Regions from separate parts of the Homo sapiens genome. Here all the other regions are linked to region 4. The links are contacts of gene promoters, found by promoter capture Hi-C in blood cells and fetal thymus (Javierre and others, 2016). All regions are on one chromosome and are shown on one strand. Each heading gives the region's core, a stretch centred on a gene start or on the middle of the fragment in contact. The rest is flanking DNA. Distances are from core to core; before and after follow the strand shown.

Region 1 (2,816 bases), core at 49-2,548, 780 kb before region 4:
CGTTCCCCATTGCCAGCAGCGGGAGCTGCTTGCAGTATGCTTGGTCCAGCCGCAGCTTCACAGGGAGCCGACACCTGTGTTGGCGCCTACAGCTGCGTGTCCCTCGGCAGCCAGTGTGCCTGGCTGTGCACAGTGGCCGGACCCCACGTTTGCTCACCCACACACCCCTCGCCACTCTGCATGTGGCTCACCTTTAGCAGGCATGGGATCCGGGCTGGTAGCATGAGGTGAGCGCAGGCTGCCGGGCAGAGTGGGCAGAATGAGCCCAGCAGGCTCAAGCAAAACTCGGGCAAGGACACCACCGGTTACAGAGCTTTTCCCGCTGGAAAAGAAACACCCTAAGAATCCTGTGACATAAGCATCCGATTACTTTTCTTCTTTATTTATAACTGAAAGAGGCAAGTGCAGTGTTTACAGTTTTATGAGTAGTTGCCGTAGGCATCAGTGATTGAAATTGCAAAAGCACAAATATAAAACTTTCCAGGTGTTGCAAATGAAGACCATATGTGAGATAAAGCTGTAATATGATTAGAATACAGGTTAAAGGATGACACTGATTTTTAAAGGCTGCAGTTACAGTGAAATTTTCTTTTAGGTAAATACAGTGATTTCTGACTTTATTTGCTTTTGTGCACCTCTTGTATATCGCACCTTGTATATTTATTTACAATAAGTAATATACTTGGAACTGTCTTACCAACTAGTTTCCAATTTTGTGAAAGTTACTCCAAGCTTTCCTTTTAGGAGTTTGTTCTAGTGTCCCAGATAAAGTTTCCCTGAACTTGATATTTTTCCCCCTCAAACTAAAAACAAAACAAAAACAACAAATGAGCCACTTTTAATTGATATATAATATACAAACAGAAAAGTTTATGCAAATCATTCACGTACACTGAGTGGATTTTCACAAATTGTACATGATACATAACTAGCAACTTAGAGCACCCCTTTATATTTCCTTCTAGATGCTCACAAACTTTTGTATACAAAAGCAAAATTAGCCCACTAGCCTCCTGTTGCATCATTTCAAAGTTTAGAATTTTTACCCTCTTTTAGGAATTGACTACATTTTAAATTAGACTGTATATTATAGCAGAATGAATTTCTCTGCTTATTCTATAAATAGTTGCAATTACACTGACATTCTTCTCAGAGCTAGGTGCATCCACTAGTGCGCAGAATGTTTTTATCAGCTTGAAAACTCTGCCCTTGAACGTGAAGCCTATCTAAGTTTATTTGGTCAGATTAGCTGTTATATATTAAGATTGCATAAAGATTAACCAAGATTAAGTATTTCTTTTGTAGAAACACATAGGTATAAAAGTATATACATTTAGAAGTAAAATCTGGCAACTTCTTTTCCCTCTTTTTCTCTTGAGTCTTTAAATATTTTTATGAAATATTAACTGTTACTCTATATAAGAAGAAAAGTAAGAGTCCAGTAATGGTGTTTCATATTTCATAGTATAAGCAGTTTTTTTTAACTAGGCTTTAGTTGTCTGTCATTAGCTGTTGTACAATAATCCTGCATCTGTATATATTACTATGTATTACTACACACATAACAATATATAATATTGTATGTATATATAATATATAAATAATAAACTTTGTTTATATTTAAAGCATTTTAAAAGAATTGCTAATGTTTTCTTACTGCGTCTTCTTAGAATACCTTAATATACCTTCCTCCAAAAGGTCATCTTTTAATCTCTTAATCTAAAGTACTTAGTTTCTTGGTTTTATTGTTCTCCCTCAGAGCAAGTATCCAGTTCTTTTCCCATATAGTACTTACCATAATGTGTGAGAAAAAAATCTGAACTTACTACTTAATATCAGGCTTCCTCAGTAGACTCAAGCTTGTAGGTTAGAGACCTGATCGTGTTTGTTTTGCCCATGGGTATATTTGTAGTGCTGAAACTATATTAATCATGTGGTACAGATTCAATGATATTTGTTGCATGAATGAATGCTTGAACAATATGATTATGTTTTCTTTTTAAAGGGAACACTGCAACTGTTGAGCCTAGGTAAAATTATGCAAGCTTAATTTTCTGACTTCCCAAGCCTGTTTGCTCCCTGTTCTTTCCCCCTGCTCTGCTCATTTCAGTGTCCTCTTCAAGTCTTTTCTTTGCATGATCAGAGCCATCTGCCTTCTAAGCAGAGCTCAGTTACACTGGATCCCTCACTAACCCTGAGTCTGAACCTTAGGATCCTCTTACTTCCTTCCCTCTGGCTCTGTCTTTAGGCCACATTTAGAGAACCAAGCTTCAGACTTTTCTGCAGACTGGAGCTTCCTATCTGTCATGTGGAGGTAGAGGGTTACAGATGTGGTGCGTGGTCAGAGCCTTTGCTATGAGTAGCTTCATCCATTTCTTCTCAGGATAAAAATACCATGATTTTCTTTTTGTAGCAAGATGTAAGAAAGTTGAGATGCACTGTCATAGGTCTGTTCTCTGTCAGAATAAGCTTGCAAAAATAGCCTGGGACTCAGAGGCTACAGCCTACTCTTAAGCCCTGGCTAGGTGGCTGGAGTGCTATCCTCTGCAGATAGTCCTCTCTGGTGTTAGCTGTTAGCCTTTTCACATAAAAGTTGACCATTGCCATCGGTGGATTTCCTAGCAATGTTCAGCTTGTCTTATGGGATGCCCCATGGATTGCGATCGGATTCCTGCATGTGAACTGCTTACAAAGCATGGTTGCCATACTTCCTTGGCTGCCATATTAGTCATTCCCTTTGAATTCACAGTTCGGTTTCACCTTCCCTAGGTATTTCCAGCCCCAAATTGTGGTCCTCTTAAGTATACCTTTTGGGC
Region 2 (2,865 bases), core at 309-2,808, 570 kb before region 4:
GTACCTTCAGTTCCAAACTCTCACCCAAGCTTCTGTCTTGAACTTTCAACAATCTGCTTGGCAACCCACTCAGATTCCTGCCACAACTTCAAAATCTTCGAGTCTCAAACATTATGTTCCTCTTCCTGACTTGAATGATGTATTCCATTAATTACATTATTTTCCCATCTATTCTGATTTAAATCTTTGTGGTCAACCTTGACTCCTCTCTCTACCACAGCCTCAACAACCTGTCAGTCACCAAGACTTTTTGCTTTTAATTTACTGTCTTTAGTATTTCTCACTCCCTATTTCCATTCCCATGGATCCATCCTAGTTGAGGCCTTCCTTATCGATCATTTGCTTTAATGTAACAACGTTCTCAGAATCTCTTACAAACACCATTTACCACTAAAAATCACCACATACATTGTTGCCAGTTTCTTTTGCTGATACAGTGATCACATTACTACCCTACTAAACAATCAAGTCAAAACAAAACAAAACGCCTGGAATTATTTCCACCACCTGAGTAGTAAAGTATCTCAGTCCATTCAGGCTGCCATAACAAAATACCTTAGATTGGGTAATTTACAAATAACAGAATTTATTTCTCGCAGTTTTGGAATCCGGCAAGTCCAAGACAAAGGCAGCAACAGATGTGGTGGTATGGCGAGGGAGCCTTCCTCATAGGTGGCACCTTCTTGCTGTGTCTTCATATGGCAGAAGGGACAGACGAGTTCCCACAGGCCTTTTTCATAAGTGCACTAATACAATTCACCAGGGTCCTATCTTCATGACCTAGTCATTTTCCAAAGGCCCCACCTTTAATGCCATTACATTGATGATTAGATTTCAACACATGAATTTTGGAGAAGCAAAAACATTTAGACCATAGCATAAAGTTCTAACAAATCTACCTGCCATTAACTCCAAGGTGCTCTCCTTTGCTTTTCTCCTAAAGTCCTATGTCATGGTCAATGTACATGCCTCCTCTCTGCCTGTGGAGCCCCCTTCAGGTATAATCGTCAGGTGTTATATACTTCTCAGGCAATCACTTTAATCATCTGGAGTCAAGAGTGTCTTAAGACACCCAGAGAAAGTCCACGTTGCTTTTGGCAGGAAACGGGGTAGAGTCAACGCCTCACTTCAGAACTAAGTCAGGCTTCCTCAGACCTTGTCTCTTCCTTCCCTAAGAATTAAGAGCAAGTCTCAGAACCTCCCCTTGCCCCTCAGCCACTGACAGTATCATCACCACTATCTACCTTGAGATCCCAAAGACTAATCTCACTTATCCCTGTTTATTGCACCAGTTTCTACAAGAAGCCCAAGACTCCCAGATGCACCCTTATTCCCCCAACACATTCTAATCCCTAGAAGGCTCTGCACAGCCCTCTTTTCTCCTTATCTCCTATTCCTTTACAACTCCAGAAACCCATCCCCTGTGCCCTCTGAAATTCATAGTCCATTTCCAGAAGGACTGCCCATATCCCAGTCCCTTATCTGAATGTTCTCTTGTCTTGCTTGAACAGAAACCTGGCTCTCCCCTGAGAACTTGTCTTCCCCTGACCTCATGAGTAATCGCTGATGTTTCTCCCAGAATCCTAACAGCCTTGAGCTTGGAGATGTATAAGTGTCTTCCTGAGTCCTCACTGCTACTCACAGGCACTTCTCCCTCTCTCATCCCCTAATCATCCCACCCCCAGCTTTGACACTTGTAACTTACATTATGTCACCCACCATCCTGAATTGTTGCAGGCATTCACTGACATTTACCAACCACAGGGAGATGCTTTCTCGTTTTTAGAAAATGTTGCCTCCTTGCTTGATATAATTTTCTCCAACAATACTCCTATGTCAATTCCTGACAATTTTTGTATATACACACATCATCTTTGCAATACAAGATGCATCAGCTCCTTATTCTCTTCTCCTCTAATTATTTTGTCCTCCACCTTGATTTAGCTACTTTGCTTCCATGTTAAGAAATTTAGACCTTGTAATTACCAGTAACTGCAACTTCTCTACAATTCCAGTTTCACATATCACCCTGTCTGACCACCACCTCTTGTCTTACAAGCTGATTCACTCTGCCTGGGCTCCAGATACCAACAATCTGCCACTACCAGTCCTTCGATCCTGCTATGCATTAAAAATTTCTCACATTGCTTCATAGCCTCTCATCTCTCTACCCTTTCTCCAGTTATCCACAAGGCTAACTCTCTTACTGTCTTGAGGGCTTGGCTCAAACACTGGTCTTTTTTCATGAGGCTTACCCCATCTAATCTACTTGAAATGGCAACTCTGTCTTCCCCCAACCCTGCTCCACTTTTCCCCATAGCACTTACCACCTTTGAACACACTAGATAATTATGTATAACCATGTTTTTTTTTATTTTGTCTGTCCTCCTCCAAAATATAAGACTTATGAGGACAAGAACTTTTGTCCTTTAGTTTCCTAATGTTTTCATACTTTGAATGGTACTTTCCACACACTTGTTGAAAAATATTTATTAAATAATTAGCACATCTTAGATTTTAAAATTATAGAATTTATTGGATTACAATGTCAATATCCTCCTAGAAAGTTATATATCATTGAGGCAGATGATATATTGTTCATATTTCCCTCCCTGAGGCCCTGGGAATTGGCTCAGCACCTTCTCAGTGAGACCTTCCTAATTATCCTACTTAAGATCATACCTCCTTCTCCAGTATTCTTGACTACCCATCTGGGTTTCTTTCTCTCTACAGAAGGTGCTAGATACTTAGTGCTGTCTGGTGTGCTATACATTCTGTTTCTTTAATTTGTCAAATGTCTTGTCTCTCTCCATTAGAACGAAAGCTCCATGAGAGCAGATCTTTTTGTTTGGTTCCCTGCCATAT
Region 3 (2,700 bases), core at 100-2,599, 730 kb before region 4:
CATCTTACTCATTTCCTGGCTGTTACAAGGATAGATTGAATGATTACTTCTTGTAAAGTCACAGTATAGCATTATGCTTGCCAGGTGGGTATTTTCAAGGGCAGGGCTGTGATTAAATGTACTTTAGTTGTTCTTATTGTGACTTTCTGAATTCTTCATCATTGTGTTATGTACCTCCAGATCTAGTAGGTAGCAGAGGACCTTTGGGGAAAAAAGCCATTCCGATTCATCTCTTACCACCAAATATCCCCATGCCTCACCTACTCCAGAAGAATATTTGTACCTACAAATCAGCTGAAGAAAGGGAGGGCTGCAAGTTTCATCCACTCCATGGCTTCCACTTCCAACGCGCACACACACACACACTTACACCCCACACATGCTAATGACTTCTCGGTCTTTTTTCCCAGTCCTTTTTTCCCAGCCTTCTCTTTGGCTCCAGATCCACATTCCAAGTGCCTTTTTCCGTCCTCTCCTAAAATCACACCTGTTAAACTTCTCATATTTTTAACAGATCACCACCTATCTAGTTTCCCAAACCAAAAATGTTCATTTTAAACTTAAATTCTCTCTCATTCTGTATCTAACCAGCCATCATATCTTTTCAACTCTTAACTACAAAATATTTCATTAACCTCACTTCAACATTTTCTCCTCATTTTTATTCCACTGGGTCAGGTCTGAAAACTCCACTAATGCAATTTTCTGTGGTCTTTCTCTCCCTTTTTTTTTTTAATCTTCAAAACTATCTGTTTTCTGGGCCACCTACGAAGATAAGATTTATATCACTTTGTTGCTCAATAATACTGATTGTACCTTAAGCTTCTCTTTGTTCACTCTTTAGTTTTGTATAATAAGTTCTTTAAAGTATGAACTATCTGAACTCTTTCTAATACTCTATTTATCCAAACATATCACCCGCTATCTCATATCTTACCCCAAAACCCTATGTTCTAGGTTTTAGATGTTATCAATTATCCCTTGCTTCCTGTGACCTTGTTTCATGATGGAAGCTCTAAGGAGTCCTTTGAAAACTTGCATTTCTGTCCTTATCTGCAAGGCCATTTAATGACTCATTCTTCGCATAGGCCAGACCCCATCTTACCCCATTCACCATTTGGCCTTTCAAGAAATAGTGTTAGGGAGAATTGCACTGAAAATACTTGTATTTTGATGTACTTCATTTCCAAGGGGATGTGTTCAATCATTTTTTCAATATCCTCTTGGCCTTTATTGAATACCTACTATGTGCCAGACACTGAATATAGAGATACAGTCCTCTTCATAAAAGTACATAGTCTAGTAGAAGGAATGGATACATTAAAAAATGTAGGAATTAATTATATCCTACCTTCAGTCTAAGTGAATATGTAGTTGTGAATGTCTAGCAAATGAGAAGGGCTGGCTTCTCATAAGAAAGTGAAAATGTGGACCACTTCTCATTTTTCAGCCACTTTTAAATTATTAAGTAAGGGAAATAATATTTCAGGAGTTTCTTTTGGTTAAAGCCCTTACATTTTCGAAACACTTAAAAAAATTTTATATATCATGTTCATAAATAGTTTGTGAAGTTCGCAAAACAAGTCCAAAATTATAAGTGAGATCTAATGAATATGAGTTTTACAGCTTTTATTTTTCCCCTCGGTGTTTCATGCCATAAGTGCTACTGAACAATTAAAATGTTGACCAAAACAAAAGGATAAGAAGCAACAAATTTTTTCACTGGGCCACAAATAGAGGAATCTCTGCTTTATTGCTGAGACAGACTTATAAACAGTGTATATAATTAGCTATTTTGCACATTCACGTGTGTATGCATCAGATGTTCTAGTATGTTTATAAAAATACCTAGTTCAATTATGTTTTTCAAAGCTTAATTAATTCTCTTGGGGTTTATGTCTAAAAATACTGCCCAGTTCTGTCTACAACCATTTGCTTGTTATACCACAGACTAATTTTTATACTATTATTACAACTTGGACTGGCAGCTTGGGGCTAAATGTGCCCATATATATTTGTTTTCTACTAATCTTTTTAAAATTTATTTTTTGAGATACTTTTATCAGCCAGAACCATGATTTCAGTATGGCTCAATTAAAATCTAAATGTGCATTCTAGTTAAAAGTTGCTTATAATTTTTCGGTGTTCAGTTTGTGATTTCAAATTTACTCTTAATGGATAATCAATCCAAGGGCTGGAAGAGACTTTATGGGGTCACTTGGTTCCCCTATTGCCTGAGACGTGTAAAAGCCTGACTTATCTAAGTAGACACTCTCATTTAAATTTCCCTGAAGGTAAAAAAGGCCACAGCCTTGCCTAGGTGAACTACTTAATTACTGTTGTAGTCGATATGGTGTTCTTTTTTAGGTGTATTCAACCTACATTATCCTATTGTTGCAAATTAAGCCAAATTCCTTTTCAATTTTTGGCAGATATTCACTGGGCACTATCTTTCATCAACTTGCAGGCATTAATATAGTGGTCTTCTATTTGCAAGATTAAAAAAAAGAAAGAAAACAAAACCAAAACTTCAGTACCCCTTTCTTACAGAATCCATATTTTTATTTATTTTCTTGGTGCCCTTTTCATTTCTCCATAATTTAAGATGCTAAAAGAGACCAGGTGTGGTGGCTCACACCTGTAATCCCAGCATTTTGGGAGGCCGAGGTGGGCAGATCACTTGAGGTCAGGAGTTAGAGA
Region 4 (2,950 bases), core at 9-2,508:
GGATCATTTAGATGACTTCTGTATTATTTAAATTAAATAAACTTTACATCATTAAAGCCATACACTAATGAGGTACTTTAGCATGTCTTTGAGGATTTAAAAGCATAGAAATGAATCCACTAATTATCATTCAGTACCAATGTTTATTTGTACTCCAAATATCACAATAACTGAAGCTCTTTAAGGCCTAACAAATTGTAACTCTTCTTCCTTACATTTGTTTTATTTTTAAGAGAAAAGGATTCAAATTTTTAAATTATAGAATATAAACATATGAAAAAAATTATAGTGTAGAATTGAGTTTAAACTCTAAAAGAAGCCCTTAATCAAATTTAAGAAAACTGAAACTGGCATTTATGTTACAGAACTTATGCTATAGGTCACCGAGCTTTTATGTTCTCATCATGGGAGCTTTAAGAAGCCTCTAATAGAGGCGCCTGCACTGCACTGATGTATAGAAGTCAACATTCCCTAGTCTTGTGTTATTGTACCCTAACCTCATCTTCCTTTGTTCTATTTTCCTTCAGTCCATGTCGAACTGGAGAACCCAGTTTTTGAGAAAGATGACCCACACCCAAAACCCTCTCTTTATCCCACTTCCTAGATCTCCTTGATAGAATACCTTGAGATTTTTCATAAAACTAGAGTAATGAAAATGGGGTCTAAACACAGCGATCCCTAGACATCTAGAGTCTCATAGGCATCAAAAGACAATGCAAAAATATCCCAGGCCAAGCTGGACTGGCCCCTGCCCTAAAGATTCTGATGAAAGTAGACTGTCAAAAATAATTGTGCATTAAGCCAGACGTGTTTTTTTTTTAAATAATGCCTGTTCTAATGCATACACATCTCTTGAATTTTGTTGAGAATATATAATCCCAGCTCAGTTGGGTCTAGCTATGCCTCCCAGAACGTGTGGTCACGCTCCTAGGGGAAAGCAAGGGTCTGTGGCTGGAGAGGAACAAAATCACCGTGGAGGTGTGGCCCCCATCAACTGCTTCTTCGCCCTACGACACGGAAGGTGACAGGCTGTGATGGCCGGGAGTGGACATTCCTTGTAAGCAGGCTTGAATCTAGCTCTCCTAGACAGGGGAGTTCCTTGGTGAGGGGCCTTGAGAGTCCTAGTGACATTAGGAGTCTGGCTTTTTCCACCCCCCTGGGGTTTCCGTCTTTCTTTGCTCACTGCTCCCCCTACCCCGCGTACAAGCTAAAGAAAGTTTTTCTCAGAATGAGCCCGCGTTGACGTAGGCATCGCCTCCCCTCTCCGCTGGATAGAAGCCCAGAAAGGAGCCACGGGGAGAAGCGGAGGTAGGGGTCGCCTGGATTTCTGTTGCTGCGGTCCGGGGGCGGGGCGGATCAAAGGCCAGCCAAGAGTACTGGTCCTGGATCTACAAATACATTAGGCTTTTTCCTCCTCCGTCAACCTCCTAAACCCCAATGAGGTCATAGCAATGAAAGAGAATCAGCTCGAGAGAAAGGAGGAGGAAGAGGACGACGACGAGGGAGAAGAAACCCAGACGGAAAGAGGCCATCAGACAAGGTCGCTTTTTCTGGCGACAAAGCAACTGCAAGGAGCGTGGTGCTGAATATCATCCGCCCGCTCTGCCTGGGGACCCAGAGACTTGCAGAAGCACTTCGCATTGCCACGAAAACAAAGGAGAGGTGACGAACGGGAGAGGGAGAGAGAAACTCGGAGCGGTTCCCTTTGGATCTCCGGGAAGCAAAGCTCCTCTCCTCGGCAATAAAACAGAAGGGACCCTGTGAAAGGGTCTAGTAGGCTGAGGAGGGCGCGGGTTTCCCTGCGGAGATTTGGGACGCGGCAGAACTCTGGACAGCGCCTGGGGAGCAAGGCTCGGAGCTCCCTGGGCTCCTCCAGGTTTTCCGCTGCTTAAAAGCCCCGGTACCGGTGTGCAATCTTCGCACCACCGAACCCAGGAAGATCCTTCTACGATCCCTATCTGAACGTGCCAGGGGGTGGAGCAGCTCCTTTGCCTCTGGCCCAGCCAGGGAAGGTCTTCGTTTCTGGAAATCCAGCCCTTGTGGATAATGCCTCGCTCTTGAAGAAAGAAAAGTTTTGGGATCTGGTAGGGGGTGGAAGGGGTAAGGAGGATAGTGGAAGAAAAAAAGGTAGATGGTTGATTTCCCTCTCTGATCTGGAAGGAAGATGACCGAGGAAGGATGTGCACCAGCGGTCAGATTATTGGGAGCCTCTTGGTGCTCTCCGTGCTGGAGATAGGGCTGGGGGTGTCCAGCGTGGCCGTGGGGGCGGTCAGCTTCAGCCTGGCCCTCCGAGAGCACAAGCCGCAGCTCGGAGACTCGTCCCCGGTATGGAGCGGGGTGTGTGTACGTTGAGCCATTTCACTCTCTCTTTACCTCTTTACGGTGATGGTCAGGGTGCGCGCATTAGTCACTCCCTCCCTGGGAAACAAAATCATAGATCTCTGGCTTGCATGTAGGTTCATGCTGACAAGCTATGCTTCTTTATATTGTCCTTTATTCGTTTTCTGTTTTGTTTTGTTTTGTTTTGTTTTGTTTCTTACTTGGGCTTAAGACCAAATTAAATGGCTTTGTTTAAAGGTGGGGGTGGGGGGTTAGTTTCCACTGGCTGATTCTACAAAAGGCTGCTTTGCCCAGTGGTGCTGTTTGGGAGGCGGGGGGAGGGGGGTGTCACACCTGTCAAGGGCAGGCTCACTTAATCTTTTGTTCCTTCTACAAGGAAAATCAAAATAAGAGTATTCCATCATTTTTTTGTATCAGGGAACAAGCAGGGATAGTTATGCATTTATCCCTGGGCAATAATGCCCAAGGTACACCAGAGGCAACACCAATAACAAAAACAGAAACGTGGTGTGAGTGTGAAAGGAAGTTTGTGGGTGCATTTCATTCCAGAAAACATTGCTGTTAATTTTCCTTTGCTACATTTCTGATATTTCACCTCTGAAAACGCTTT
Region 5 (2,827 bases), core at 234-2,733, 530 kb before region 4:
AGATCTCTAAGTGTCCCCTCAACCCTAAAATGTTACATTTTATACATTTACAGAGTAAAGCAATACTTCATTCGACATTATCAAAGCAGAAATTTTTTTTCCATCTGATGAGCAAACTCATGGCATAGTTTCAGTGGGAATTGCAAAATGAATCCCACTATATATGAAGCCCCACACATAGGTTGAGAAGGGCTCCCTGGCAGTGCTCAACCTACATGATTGTGTGTGTTGGCTCTATAATCATAGCAATAAAAAAAAGAAGACACAGATAGTTTCTCTCAACTAAAATTTTGTATAATAGTGGTTAGTTTTTAAGTCAACTACACAGTCCCCCAGAAAACCTGGAGTCTTTAATCAAGGTAAAAACTTTTAAATGCAAAATCAGTAACCTAAGAAAAACTCAAAGAACTGATTTTCTTGTAGGTAAAATTTACCAAATCTGTTAAGTGCTATGAAACCAGTATATATTATGGTGTGTCAGTGTTGTTTTCATAAACTTACAAGACCTAAAACTTACAAACAATTCTAAAATAGTAGGTGAGTGTGTCTTCTTAGTACTTAATAAATGTAATATGAATTAAAATTTAACTTCAAATATGCCAAAAGCGTAAAGAGTCAGCCACTATGCAAAAGGACTTAGTATACATGTATATAGCCATGAAGAATTCAGATATTAGAATTTATATCTCTTTAGTTCAAAGCAATGCATTTCAATCTTAGTGGGCCATTTACTTTCACGTGCAATATACTATTGCACACTTTTGAAAATGAGATGAAAGTCAATAAAAGAAAGATGAACATCCAATTCCCAAAACTTAAAAAAAAATCAATTCAAAGTGTATGCCTATTTGATGATAGGAGGTTAGAGAAAACCTCCGTATTGTGAAAGCTTTCATTATTTGATTTTTCGTATGTAATAAGCAGTATAAAATGATGGACATGCCTCCTGTCTCCAATACCACACAAAAGTAAGTAAGAGAAAAAACCTTTCTGTTCCATCTCCCTACAATAATTGCTTCAGAAACCACAGTTAATCTTGGGATACACCATTATTCTGCTGCTTGCTAGTGGACCATACAATGTGAGAAAGTTATTTTTATCTTGAGTGGCAACAATTCAGCAGGATAGACTTGCCAATTTGAGTCCCACTCTTCACTATTTCATTGGGGTGAATGATGTCTGATGTAGACAAGTATAGAAGTTGGCAGATCTCATTGATTTTATTCCCTGTGAATCTACAAATGGGACAGATATTTATTTATTTATTTATTTATTTATTTTTAAAGGCAGTCTATTTAGAATGCTGTTTTCTAAGGCAACTTTTTTTCACATTTTACTATATTAAAGAAATACTCAAAATCGCTTTAATCATAATCCTTTGCACGAAGTCAGTGGGACTGGGATTTAAACAACTATTGAAAAATAATACACAGAAGGAGTGAGAAAAGAATGTCATCCAGCAACAATACATTTTTTTTTTTAAGTTGGAGCAAAATGCCGAACTTCTAATAGAGGGGCTGCAAAGAGAAGAAGAAAAGGCGGTCAGAAAGAATATAAACTAAAGGTAAATAAGAAGAATGAAAGTCGGGACAATACAAAAATGGCTAAAGATTGAAGTGGGAAGAGTGTAATGCACAAAAGTGAAGCCGGAGAAAAAAATGATGAAATGTAGAACAGGAACAGCGGCACAGAATGGAAAAAAAGGAGGTCAGAAAAGCACAAAGAGGGCTGAAGAACAGCAAACAAAGAAGTAGTATCAAATGGAAAGGGAGCAAGTGTCTAGATTATAAAGTGGGGGGAGAAAACATCAACATTCGGGAGGGAGGGCGGCAGCAGAGTGAAGAGCCAGAGCCACGGGAGGAGCCCAGTCATTTTGCTTTGTCTTCTACAAGTGGAGTTTATGCCACTTGACTGGAGCTTGCAAATGGATGTGAATTATTTTACTGGCATTCAAAGTCCTGCTGTAACGTTGTTAGGAATTTGGCATGGTAGTGTCAGCCTTAACAAAGGCTATCAACTTTCCTCACGTTAAACCAAAGCAGCTAAATTTACATCCTTTTGCAGCTTTCAAGCTTTTTTCAAATGGCATAAACTGGCAATAGCTAGGCTTGAAAAATTCTGGGCATTAAAGAAAGCAAAGAATCTGTTTTCATTAAAGATAATCTTATGATCATTTGCTCACATTCTTATTGCTTTAGTTTATAGTTTTTTTAAGAAATCAAGTTTACTTGAATTTAGATGGTTTTATGAAAATTCTAAAAATTCTTGAAATATGGAAATACAGTTTGCAACTACAAGGACCAAATTGCTAAGATAAACTATCAAATCACCATTAAAAAGGGCCCTTTGTCTAAGTAGTTACTTTTAAAATTGCTTTTGAGAAAAAAAAAAAAAAGGTCTCCTTAAAGTTGCAAATAATGACACCAAGAATGATTTGTTACATAGCAGGTCAAAGTAAATCAGTAGTTTCTTAACTTTGAACTGGAACTAGAAACCTAGATATATTTTCTGTTCTTCTGTTTTCTCCTTCTCCTCCTTAATAGCCTCTGAGCAAATTATCTACTGAGTGAAGTTTTATATCTTCAAGTTCAGCTCTGGTTAGGTGTTCACTTTGTTTCTCCATGGGAACAAACACGTTACCATGGGAACTGGGTAGCACAAACTATAAACAGTACTGAAAGCTTTTAGAAAGAACCACGCTTATAGCACAATGTTAACTATACAATGCAAGTGCTAGCTGGCCATTCCAATACCTAGCATATTATGGCATCTCAAAAAGAATAACTTGATCCTGTGCCTTATCAAATGATGAAAAAATAAATAAAAC
Region 6 (2,700 bases), core at 129-2,628, 510 kb before region 4:
CAGGTAATAAGCGTAGTATTTAATAGGTAGATTTTTTTATCTTTACCCTCCTCCCTCCCTCCACCCTTAAGCAGGCCCTGGTGTCTGTTGTTCTCTTCTTTGTATCCACATGTATTCAGTGTTTGGCTTCCACTTATAAGTGAGAACATGTGGCATTTTATATTCTGTTTCTGTGTTAGTTCACTTAGGATAATGGCCTCCAGCTCCATCCACGCTGCTGCAAAGGACATGATCTCATTGTTTTTTATGGTTGCGTAGTATTCTATGGTGTATATGTACCACATTTTCTTTACTCAGTCTACTATTGATGGGCATTTAGATTGATTCCATGTCTTTGCTATTGTGAAGAGTGCTGAAATTTGCTTTTCAAAACCCTAGCTAGTTCTATAGTCTGTGTCGTGATTGGTTACAACAAATATTTTCCATGGGCAATTATAATTAAATTTGGAGAATGATGGTCGTATATAAATATAAACTGCTGAAAACATAAATATGTTTTTATTTTATTTATTATTATTAATTTTTTATGAGATGGAGTTTTGCTCTTGTTGCCCAGGCTGGAGTGCAATGGCATGATCTTGGCTTACTGCAACCTCCCCCTCCCAGGTTCAAGCGATTCTCCTGCCTCAGTTTCTCTAGTAGCTGGGATTACAGGCAGATGCCATGATGCCCAGCTAATTTTTGTATTTTTAGTAGAGACGGGGTTTCACTATTTTGGTCAGGCTGGTTTCGAACTCCTGACCTCAGGTGATCTGCCCACCTCGGCCTCCCAAAGTGCTGGGATTACAGCATGAGCCACTGTGCCTGGCTGTAATACACTGTTAAAATTGGTGAATAAAAGATCTGTCTTAATGACAAAGGCTTAATTATGCCCTTTCTAGGTCTTATCACATACTTGGGATTCTGAGGATATTTTGAACCTACAAAGAATGTAGCATCCATTCCAAAATGAGTAATAAGAAGAAATAAATGTAGACTTCAAGCATCTATAACTTATTTTTCAACAGATCTCCTTTTGTTTTTGCAAACTTTTGGACTAGTCCCATTGTTATCCGGGCTTGAACTCTTTACTCCTTTCTTTCTTCTCTGGTCTGTGTTGTTTTTAAGCACTCACCAGTGATAGATTTCTAGAAAATAGAATGTACAAAATAAACAAACCACCAGAACCAGCAGCAGCTAAAGAAAAATAAAATACAAATAAGGAAACAATGAAAAGTCAAAGCAAGCACCCAAATTCCAAGCCAAATTCAATCTGCAATAAGAGATACATTTGAACAAAATGTAAAAATCAGTGTATATCCCTCAGACTTTGTCTATCAGGGTGAGAGATTCAGCTCTTCACTTGTTCTAGAAGAGGCACCATGACTTGAGTGACCAGGGAAGGAAGACAAATACTTAATAATTATGTCAGATATTTGATTTCATCTAAGTTACACTGGAAAATCATCTATATGAAGTCCCCCAACATCGTGAGAGACTATGATTCTCACCTATGTGTAATTTGTCTTTTTATCAACAGTTTGGTTGACAGTAGATGTATTGTTATTGATTGTATTCCAAAACTTTATGATCGCTCATGTGTTTTCCATTGTATTAACCCATTTATTCCTAGAGATACAACTTAAGGCTAGGAAAAGCAAATATTAAGTAAACATTGTTTTTTACACAGGAAGAAACAGATTCTTATCTATTACCAGTCTGAGGTTTATATTTAACCAGTTTCATGAGAGGTGTTAACTATTATCTCCCCACCTGCTGCTCTAGTTGATCACATGACCCTACCCTACTATAGTCACAGCTAAATGAATCCACAGGTTGACTAGTTGTCTATGACAGTCAATTGTGACAGACTCTGAGCAGACATTAAAGAAAAGAACAATCACATTTCTTTCTCAGAAATTTGGACTTAAGGTTTTGAGGAACACGGATAATTCAGAATTTAGAGTTAGAACTGATAGGTTAGGTAATATAGAGTGGGCTTGTTGCCATAAAGGAAGGCGATAAAAAATTACATATTGAACATATTCGTAGAGTAAAATAGAAAATAACAAGAAACTATAAAGGCAGTTCTTGAAAGACCTCGGTTTCTCTACTTCTAGTCCCAGGTCACAAAAAGCCAACTATGCTTCATTTTGTGTCTTAGGATTCCTGGGTATTTTAATATTCTCCAATAAACCTCTCTTTTAGCTTTTCTAGTTAGTTTGAGTAGGGTTTTGCTCCTTGCAAACAAAAGAGGCTTCTCAAGAGCAGTGACTTAAATTATTCACTGCCAGTTACAGCATCACTTGCTAAGGGCCCAAAGTGACAAAGACACCAAATATTACTTATTCAAGGAAGCAAGCAATGTTATATAGGCCTATACCTTGATAAATACTGAAGTCAAGTTTTTTGTATAGTTAATGTTGGAGAAGTAGGCACTGTTTTATTTAAAAAAAATATTTAACTAGAGCCAACAATAAAATCAAGCCTAGCTGTTACATAATCCGCAAATGATGTCATACCCTTTCTTGCTCTTTTATTTTCCTCCAATTTTGTCTATAATGAATAATTGGGTCAATTAAGGTGCTGTGAGAATTATTCATCTTTCAATTATATACTCTGTATAATTTATTATGCTTTAGAAAATTGTACATAGTGAGACATACAAAATACGATGGGGATTTTCTAAAATCTGGAAAAGAAAAATTTTCTGCTCTCAAA

What was found. The method cuts DNA at HindIII sites, captures the fragments that hold promoters and counts their contacts. A CHiCAGO score of 5 or more calls a contact.
Region 1: a contact is called between a fragment that was not itself captured here and the fragment with the promoter of TMEM196 in region 4, in 7 of 17 cell types (total B cells, naive CD4 T cells, monocytes and 4 more). The highest score is 8.7, in total B cells.
Region 2: a fragment that was not itself captured here is called in contact with the fragment with the promoter of TMEM196 in region 4 in 2 of 17 cell types (total B cells and naive B cells); the score reaches 6.3 in total B cells.
Region 3: a fragment that was not itself captured here is called in contact with the fragment with the promoter of TMEM196 in region 4 in 1 of 17 cell types (total B cells); the score reaches 6.0 in total B cells.
Region 5: a fragment that was not itself captured here is called in contact with the fragment with the promoter of TMEM196 in region 4 in 2 of 17 cell types (total B cells and naive B cells); the score reaches 8.6 in total B cells.
Region 6: a contact is called between a fragment that was not itself captured here and the fragment with the promoter of TMEM196 in region 4, in 1 of 17 cell types (naive B cells). The highest score is 5.5, in naive B cells.

The regions. Positions count from the first base shown.
Region 1 is chr7:20,556,800-20,559,615 of GRCh38, reverse strand. No RefSeq gene overlaps it. Among named protein-coding and RNA genes, the nearest start is that of ABCB5, 57 kb to the left of the region's middle. RefSeq lists an enhancer at 1-134. The HindIII fragment of the contact is 1,127 bases long and covers 735-1,861 here.
Region 2 is chr7:20,344,901-20,347,765 of GRCh38, reverse strand. The region is part of intron 1 of ITGB8 (integrin subunit beta 8); the gene reads right to left. Among named protein-coding and RNA genes, the nearest start is that of ITGB8-AS1, 15 kb to the right of the region's middle. The HindIII fragment of the contact is 3,054 bases long and covers 32-2,865 here.
Region 3 is chr7:20,504,714-20,507,413 of GRCh38, reverse strand. No RefSeq gene overlaps it. Among named protein-coding and RNA genes, the nearest start is that of ABCB5, 110 kb to the left of the region's middle. The HindIII fragment of the contact is 1,050 bases long and covers 825-1,874 here.
Region 4 is chr7:19,771,925-19,774,874 of GRCh38, reverse strand. TMEM196 (transmembrane protein 196) reads left to right here and starts at 1,258. Exons shown (of 5, transcript NM_001363562.2): 1 at 1,258-2,325. The coding sequence starts at 2,179. All of the region lies in intron 1 of LOC107986774 (a long non-coding RNA gene), which reads right to left. The HindIII fragment of the contact is 8,082 bases long and covers 1-2,950 here.
Region 5 is chr7:20,307,113-20,309,939 of GRCh38, reverse strand. The region is part of intron 4 of LOC101927769 (a long non-coding RNA gene); the gene reads right to left. Among named protein-coding and RNA genes, the nearest start is that of ITGB8, 22 kb to the left of the region's middle. The HindIII fragment of the contact is 1,183 bases long and covers 892-2,074 here.
Region 6 is chr7:20,286,473-20,289,172 of GRCh38, reverse strand. No RefSeq gene overlaps it. Among named protein-coding and RNA genes, the nearest start is that of ITGB8, 43 kb to the left of the region's middle. The HindIII fragment of the contact is 3,649 bases long and covers 1-2,700 here.